3 separate regions of the Homo sapiens genome follow, and all the other regions are linked to region 3. The links are contacts of gene promoters, found by promoter capture Hi-C in blood cells and fetal thymus (Javierre and others, 2016). All regions are on one chromosome and are shown on one strand. The core of a region is centred on a gene start or on the middle of the fragment in contact, and the rest is flanking DNA. Distances in the headings are between cores, read along the strand shown. Region 1 overlaps TMEM108 (transmembrane protein 108). Region 2 overlaps TMEM108 (transmembrane protein 108). Region 3 holds the start of TMEM108 (transmembrane protein 108).

Region 1 (2,700 bases), core at 156-2,655, 170 kb before region 3:
AGTGAAGAGGGTGTGGGAAGCCACCCCCAGACTATGAGCTTGGCATGAAGCTGAAACCACCCTCATCTCTAAATCATTCATTCTCAGGGTAGAAAAGTGCTCCTTTTCCTGAAGATGGCATTCATAGAGAAGATAGACTGAGAGAAAACAGTTGATGCTGCAAATTCTGAGTGGGGGCAATGGAGGAGAGACTACACCAAAGGAACCTCCTTCCCCGCTGGGGACCATAGCCAACTGCACAGAGAAGCGGGGCAGGAAGATGCAGTATACACAGCAGTAAGCCAGGAGATCCATTTTGGAAAATACTGAGTGCCACAACTTAACATGCACTGTGCTAATAGGAGGGGCTGGGGCTGAGAATAAAAACAAATGAGACATGCTCCCCATCTTTAAGAGCTTGCAGCATGGCATGGAGAGAGACTATCTTGTCAAAAACCACTCTATAGACAGCTTTGCCTATGTATTTGTCTAATGCACTTGTATTAGACAAGGTATATCATAGCAAATTATATTCTAACAAATTAGAAAATGGGGCAGGCATGGTGGCTCATGCCTATAATCCCAGGTCTTTGGAAGGCCAAGGCAGGAAGGCTGCTTGAGGCCGGAGTTGAGACCAGCTTGGCAAAATAGCAAAACCCCATTCCTTAAAAAAAAAAAAAAAATTAGCCAGGTGTGGTGGCCTGTGTCTATAGTCAGAGCTACTTAGAAGGGGCTGGGGCAGCAGGATCCCTTGAGCTAGTTTGAAGTTTCAGTGAGCTATGATTGTGCCACTGCACTTCAGCCTGGGCAACTGTGAGACCCTGTCTCTTAAAAGCCTTACCCTTCTTGAGTCTCAGCATTACTATCAATAAAATGGGTACAACGTCTATACTGCAAGATAGTTTTGAGAATAAAATGACACGAACATCCACACAAAGTCTGGAACGCAAAAGTACCAGAATCATGCCCTATTTTCTCTTTAAAAGAAAAGTTGTTATCTTCTAGAGTAGGAAGACAAGGTTTCTGAAGGAGGTGGAAATTCAGCTAAACCTTGAAGGTTAAGAGTGATGGAAAATGCAAAGGCACAGAGGTAAGACAGTGAGGCAGGAGTTTGAGAATGAGTACATTAAACAACAGGAGATCTACCACTGGCTGCTGTAAAAGCCTTCCCCAATACAGTTTTGGATGTAATGTGACTGGCTCTCCAGCTTCTGAAAGAGTTGGGCCAATGTTCTTGTCTTCTAGAGGAGGGGAGAATATATTCAGGAGAGGACAAGACTGACAGGGAAGTAGCTGGTGGTAGTTGGAAATCAGCAAGATGGGAGCTGGGTCCCCAAAGCACAATCTTCCCAAATCAATAGAAGAAATAAATGCCTACTAACCATGGGATAGCTGGAAGCCCCAGCCAGCTACAGGATCCAGAATCATCCCCATCAATGTTTACACAGCTTTAGATGACTAACACTAGATGGTGGCAAACCCAAGTTTACACCTGGATAGATCTGGCTCCTGCAGCTAGATCCTCAGAACTCAAGGCTGGCTAACTATGTAGGCTGGCTTTCATCATTCCATTAACTTCACAGTAATGTTACCACGTGGTCTACACAAGTGGTTCTCAAAGTTTGGTCCTCAGACCACAAGCAGCACCCAGGAGCTTGTTAGAAATGAAAATGATCAGGTTCTACCTCAGACCCACTGAATCAGAAACTCTAAGGGTGGGGCCCAGTAATCTGTGCTTCAACAAGCTCTCCAGGATGTATACTAACGTTTGGGAACCCCTGCTTTACACACAGGAATTTCTGGGCCTATTATGCCATGGCAGGGTTTTACTGTACAACTGTGACCTTGGATAAATAATATACCTTTATATAGGACCAACAAAATGAAGAAAGAGGTAGCTGGAACAGAAAGATCTATCTCCAAGGTCCCTTTCAATTGTAACATGCTATAATTTATTAGTTCACCAGTGGGGGAAATGTTTACAGCTCATTAGTTCAAACAGATGGGTAGTGTTGGCATTTGTGGATCTTGTTGCATGCATTGAGTGTGGTATGTTTGAATTCTAATGGCTAATTTTAACATGCTACACATCTTCATTATTAGACTTATTAGGCTATTAATGTTAATGCTATATGATTGACCCCCATATGGAGGGGAGCATTAAAACATGAGCTTTGTGTGAGGAAAACCAACAATTTAATTGCAATGAATTTCTTGTCTCTGTTGTGGTTACATATAACCATTAAGAACTAGACCTTTCACTGAATTAAAATTCTAAACAAAGGCAGTCAGAATTGATTTAAATAATTAAATCCTGGAACAACTACTTTCAAATAAACCTCTCATCCAGAACCTAAAAAACTTTACGATGATAGCCAATACTTACAGGTAAATCAAACATGTAAGCCACTTCGCCTGACAAATCAGCTCAAATCAGAGGTCCAGGGGAGGGCTGGCAAGATGGCCAAACAGGAACAGCTCTGGTCTGCAGCTCCCAGTGAGATCAATGCAGAAGGCGGGTGACTTCTGCATTTCCAACTAAAGTACCTGGCTCCTCACTGGGACTGGTTAGAAAGTGGGTTCAGCCCATGGAAGGCAAGCAGAAGCAGGGTGGGGCGTCACCTCACCTGGGAAGTGCAAGGAGTCAGGGAACTCCCTCCCATAGCTAAGGGAAGCCTTGAGGGACTGTATCCTGAGGAACGGTGCATTCCAATGCAGATA
Region 2 (2,927 bases), core at 299-2,798, 210 kb before region 3:
TTCACATAGAAGTGGACCCACATTGTTCAAGGGCCAACTGTATAATGCATGAGAAGTCTATTTCCTAGCATAGTCCTATCTAGAACTAAGCCAGAGTCCTATATTTCTAGATCATTTGATGTTACTCTACTGACACCTCAAGAGCTTAATTGTTTGAAGTTTAAAAAGTACACATAACTACTCTGGAGGCCAAGTTGTGAGGACTGCTTGAGCCTAGAAGTTCTAGGCCAGCCTGGGCAACATAGTGAGACCCTTTCTCTTAAAAAAATTAAAAACATATAATGATTTTCATAAACTGAAATTTCCTTTTCTTATTAAAAATGTTTCTATTATATGCATGATAGTCACTTAAATTACCATATTACTCAAATAATTTAAAAGCTCTTTGTTCCTTAATGTAGTGAAAATTTATTCACCACAGAAGTTAATTTAAAATTATGGTACTTTATATGTTCATCTCAGCACTATTCACCATAACAAAGACGTGGAATCAACTGAGGTACCTATCAACAGTGGACTGGATAAGGAAAACGTGGTACATGTACACCATGGAATACTATACAGCCATAAAAAAGAATAAAACCATGTCCTCTGCAGCAACATGGATGGAGCTACAGGCTATTATACTAAGTGAATTAATGCAGAAACAGAAAACCTAATGGCACATGTTCTCACTTATAAGTGGGAGCTAAGCATTGGGTACTCATGGACATAAAGATGGCAACAATAGACACTGGAGACTACTGGAAGGTGGAGGGAAGGAGGAGCAGTAAAACATCGGTTTACATCTGTCATGCTCAGAGTGTTCCCTACTCTCGTTTTTCCCCTCAACCCCTTCAAAGCTTTTCTATAATTAACCACAGTGTGACAGAAATAGTTTAAGGGCTAACATTCTCTGCCCTTTACTGCACTGATGCAGCCTAATAGTTTTCCGTCTTTATTTATTTCCTCAGTTTCTTTTCACCCTCTGAAACACAGTGGGGCTGTCCCATTACTGTCTCTTCCTCCTATCACATCAGCTTCAATGAAGAGGCTTAAGTTCCACAACTAGAGTATCAGACTTGACGCAAATTGTGAATATTTCTTTTGGCACTGTGAAGGAGATGTCATGATTATACATGCTTCCTTTCTGGCCTTTCCTACCTCTACCCTCCCAGGCCCAGCTGGTACCTGGAATAAACTGGATGAGGAGGAGGCCCACCAGCACCCTGAAATACCTCTTTCATCATCTGATAACCCCCTCAGTGACCACGCAAAGGTAGCAGCTTTTAATCAGCAGCAGGAGTGAGTGCATTCTCTGAGGGCTAGATGAAGGCTAATTTAATTCAAGAAACAATTAAGTGGATGTATATTAGAAGCCAGATTTCTTTCCCCATCCTTTTTCACAGTTGCTATAATAATCCAAGACTTCTAAAAATACAGCCATAAGGATGGCACAACCAGAGCCTGCTAACCAAAAAATAATGAGGCTAAATGAGCTACAGATTCCTCAGCTTATAAAAGGAATAACCCACTGCCATAATGGGTTGCAACATTTCCTTTCCTAAATATTACCCAGCCAATATCTGATTTGAGAGCCAGTACCTCTATCCTGCTACTGTTTGTTTTATTTTTTTAAACAGACCCAGGGGAGAAACAAAAAGACCAACTACTAAAGCTGCTAAAACAAGATAAAGCATACTGCAAGGGAAAGGCTGGAGCAGTTCACTGGCTGAAGTTATAAACTCCATCAAGAGACACACAATCAGATGGCACAACTGTCTTCAGTGGGTCACAGTTTTCCAAATACAAAGGCGGTGCCTACCGAAGCTCTGGGATTCTGGAAAATATACTGGACTTGGAGTAAGACAATCTCAGTCCATGTTCCTAGTTCTAGGATTTTAGGCATAACACTTGGCTTTTAGGGCATTGTATTTTCTTTATAGTAACATGGTATTAAAATGATGCCTATCAACAGGCTTGTCAGGATGAGTCAACAGCATATTAGATGGGAAAACACCATAAAGTACAAAAGGCTTGTTATCGTCAGTCTCCTTTGGTTGTTATATTGGTTAAGAGGACTAATTGTTGCCTCTCTCCAAGTTCAGAACTAATTCAAACATACATAGAGGAGTCAGAGGTGGATCAAACATTATTTTTATTACTAGTTAAGTTGGATTTAAGAACATGGCTTGACTTATAGCTTCCTACTGTATCCTATAACACACTATTTTTTCATATTCTGCCCTTTCTCCTTGATTATACTATAAGCTTTTGGAGAGAAGAAATTATGCTTTATATCTCTCTGCATCCCTAGAGTTTTTCACACAGCCATAACCCCAGCAGGTGTGCTATCTGATAAAGGAGACTGCATTTGTACCACAGTTTTCTATGTGAAGCCTTTTTTCTCCACTGGCCTGGGAACTCTTGGAGGGCAGGGTTCATGTCTTTTCATTCCCAGTGCTTAGCATAATACCTAGCACATAGTAGATTCTTTATAAAAGTGTGTTGAAAGATCATGAAAACAGAAGGGTACCAAATGATCTGGTGCCACCCAGGGGTTGCAGAGAGGGATTTATTTATTTTTTATTTTTTTTTTAGGATTATTATGAATAACAGTGAATATAAATATGGATTGAAAATAGTCCTTTTGGTGATTTCAAAATTTTCTGGTTGGCCTCTGAGACAGGTGGCATCTTAATGAAAGAGGGGAAGCTCCCCATCTGGGAAGGCTCAGAAGTGGGGCCTACCCTATTTCCTTAACACTCAGGACACTAGGAAGCCTTGCAGTTTACTTGTATCCAAGTGAGGGGATTTGCCTATTCTGTTATCTACTTTGAAATGTTAGCTCCTAAAACATGGGCAGGTAGCTTAAAAAGACATCTGAAATAAACACTGGATTGAAGGCAATGCTAATAATGGAAGCACAAGTGAACAACAAGCAAAAG
Region 3 (2,700 bases), core at 35-2,534:
TACAGAGTAGATTACCAGGTGTATCCAACAAATCAAGAAGTTAACCCGTGGAAAATTGAAGGGACTTTTTATGTTTGCCTATGAGCTGTCTGGGGAAATGGAGGAGAGGCAGGGAATACTTTCCATAGCTTGACCTGCTCTTAAGTTCCTGGACATACCTTCCCCTTTTTAAAGTATGATTTAAAGGCAACAATCCATCTCCCCCGGACTCCCATACAAACCTCTTTTGGCAGCCAAATGGTCTTCATCGAGCACACACTTTTCAAAGAATTAAGGACGTGTGAGTAGGTTTAGTTTAGACCCTGCCTTCCCTCTCCCCACAACCCAGTAACATGCTGAAAATAAGTAATAACCTTCCTGGGTACCCCCAGAAAAACCTGTTTGCAGAAACTACAACCTTTCCTCCGAAAAAAACCCCTATCTTCTTAAGGAAGAATCTCAGTGTGGTGGTCTGCAGTTCACTGCAGGCATTTCCCTCCTCACCATTTACCAGTCATCAGTTACGCTGCATCTGAAATTGGTTTTTGTAGACTTTCATTTAGACCGGCTCCACCGGTGCCCAACTGCTTAAAAAAAAAAATAGCCCCTGAACCAATCTCTGGATTCCTCCAGCAGGCTCAAAGCGTTCAATTTCGCTGCAACTCTGGGGTGAAAACCGCCAGGTCCAGCCGGCAGAGCAACCTCCCGGGCAGCACGGAGGCTCCGTCCCCGGCGAGGCCGCCGGCACCTAGGCAGGAGGGCTCTTCGCACAGCTGCGCTAGGAATTCGGCTCCGCTCGCGGCCGCAGGATTAGTTCGAGTCCCTCGGGCTGGCCAAAGTGACACTACATTTCTTCTTCTTCGTTTCCCCATGTGACAGGTCCCCCTGCATTAAAGCCACCTCCTCCTCGGCCCCAGCCCAGGTCCAGCGCTCCTGACGCCCGCGCCCCATCACCCGCACCCTCCACCTGGGGAGGGGGTTCATGCCAGCAACCCTCCAGGCGGGAAACAAAGGCGGAGGCAGGGCTGCCAGGTGGGCAACTCCCCTCGGGCAGACCCGTCACGCAGTGGGGAGGATGGGAAGGTGCCTGAGAGGATAGGAAAAGGGAAACCAAGGCAACCGGGGCTGCATCCTCCCTGAAGCTGGGCTCCCGGGGCAAGCTGACCCCACACCTCCCCGAGCCCCGCCCAGCCCAGCCTAACCCGCTTGCCGGGACCCAGCATGGGAAGGACTGGGGGGACGCCCCGGAGCGCCGCTTACCTCGGGAGAAGCGCTCCGGCTCCCTCCGACGGCTCAGGAGAAAGCCCCACCGCTCGCGCACGCGCTCTCGCGCACTCGCGCCTTCGCCCCTCGGGCCCCCGCGCGCGCCCCTCCGACCAGGCTCTGGCCCGCCCCGGCCTTGTCCGTCAGCGTCCGCGACAGCCAATCCGGTCGCACGGAAGGCTCAGCGCCGGTCACGTGGTGAGACCAGCCAATCACCAAATTGCCCTCGGCAGCGCCCGCTCCGATGTCTCTGGGGGTTCGGTTGCTACCTAGCAGAGCGGGTGCGAGGCGGGCACAAAGGGTCTCTGTTTTCGGGGGCTAAGTGGCACTCAGTTGATCAATTACCAGATCAATTGACTTCTCAAATTCTAATATAAATAAGAATCACTTGACTCTCTTGTTAAAATGCGGATTCTGATCCAGAAGGTCTGGGGTGGAGACCTGAGATCCTGCATTTCTAATAAGCTCCCAGGTGGCGATGACGAAGCTCTTGGTCGGAGGATCACGCTTTGAATTGCACCTGTCCGAAAGTAATGGCTGTAGCCCCAGCTCCACGTAATTTGAAACTTGCACGACCTTTCTTGTCCTTCTTCCACTGATGAGAAGCGTTCCTGTGGCTACATGGGGTGTCCCGGTGATGCTTACAGTTTGGGCACCAGCTGAGGGAAGGTGTGTTTAATCCCCACATTACCCACCCTTGGTCTATGGAGCAGCAATCATGCCAACTTGGTGACTGGAGTGTGGAACCAGAAGTGGAGACGGAATGGCCATGGAAGAGAACACTGTGTCTACGTTAATCCTAAAGGGTTGGGCGTGTGTGTCTGAGTGGCGCGGTGCCAGACACTTGGCCAGAGAAGTGGTATAAGTGGTCCCTGCTTCTCAAAACGTAACAATTTGTTGTAGAACTATACAGGCTAGTTCAGAAAGAAGCATGTGGAGAAAACATCCGGGAAGCTAACAGTCACAGCACAAATTCAGGCATAAGCTAAAGAGGTTGTAAAATAATATGCCTTGAGGGTCTTAAAAACTGTCCAAATATTCTTCTGTCAGTAATTCCAGAGTCTAGAAGTTAGGACTCCCACTGGCCCTGTCATTTCTCAAATTTGACCTAAGGACTCAGTGTTTTCGGACTGGCCAGCTAGAACCTTTGTCGTTCAGCGTAGCCAAGCTCTTATTACCCAGTAGTGTACCGCCGTGGTTCAAGATTCTTAAGTGCTGAATTCTCCAAAACCTTCATCTCTCATCTCTTGAAACCAGGTGGTATAACCCTGCTTCAGCATTTCTCTCTCACTATCAAGGTGATCAAACTGTCGCTTAGAGAAAACTTCACCTTTGTCAGTGTGTCCTGAACTTCTCTGGCTTCTCATCCCCAGAAGTGAAGCCCACCTAGCAATCTCAGACATTGTTCATCACATTGTCCCTATCAGAGATGGCATCGCACAAAATTCAGAGTTTCTG

What was found. Contacts are between HindIII fragments. The CHiCAGO score rates a contact against its expected background, and 5 or more counts as called.
Region 1: a contact is called between a fragment that was not itself captured here and the fragment with the promoter of TMEM108 in region 3, in 1 of 17 cell types (megakaryocytes). The highest score is 5.4, in megakaryocytes.
Region 2: a contact is called between a fragment that was not itself captured here and the fragment with the promoter of TMEM108 in region 3, in 1 of 17 cell types (megakaryocytes). The highest score is 6.5, in megakaryocytes.

Annotation. Positions count from the first base shown.
Region 1 is chr3:133,207,171-133,209,870 of GRCh38, reverse strand. The region is part of intron 2 of TMEM108 (transmembrane protein 108); the gene reads right to left. Among named protein-coding and RNA genes, the nearest start is that of TMEM108-AS1, 49 kb to the left of the region's middle. The HindIII fragment of the contact is 3,586 bases long and covers 1-2,700 here.
Region 2 is chr3:133,247,293-133,250,219 of GRCh38, reverse strand. All of the region lies in intron 3 of TMEM108 (transmembrane protein 108), which reads right to left. It overlaps TMEM108-AS1 (TMEM108 antisense RNA 1), which reads left to right. Exons shown (of 3, transcript NR_110812.1): 3 at 1,623-2,927. Among named protein-coding and RNA genes, the nearest start is that of TMEM108-AS1, 8.4 kb to the left of the region's middle. The HindIII fragment of the contact is 1,408 bases long and covers 845-2,252 here.
Region 3 is chr3:133,036,975-133,039,674 of GRCh38, reverse strand. It overlaps TMEM108 (transmembrane protein 108), which reads right to left and starts at 1,284. Exons shown (of 6, transcript NM_023943.4): 1 at 1,240-1,284. RefSeq lists an enhancer at 1,296-1,590. The HindIII fragment of the contact is 5,754 bases long and covers 1-2,700 here.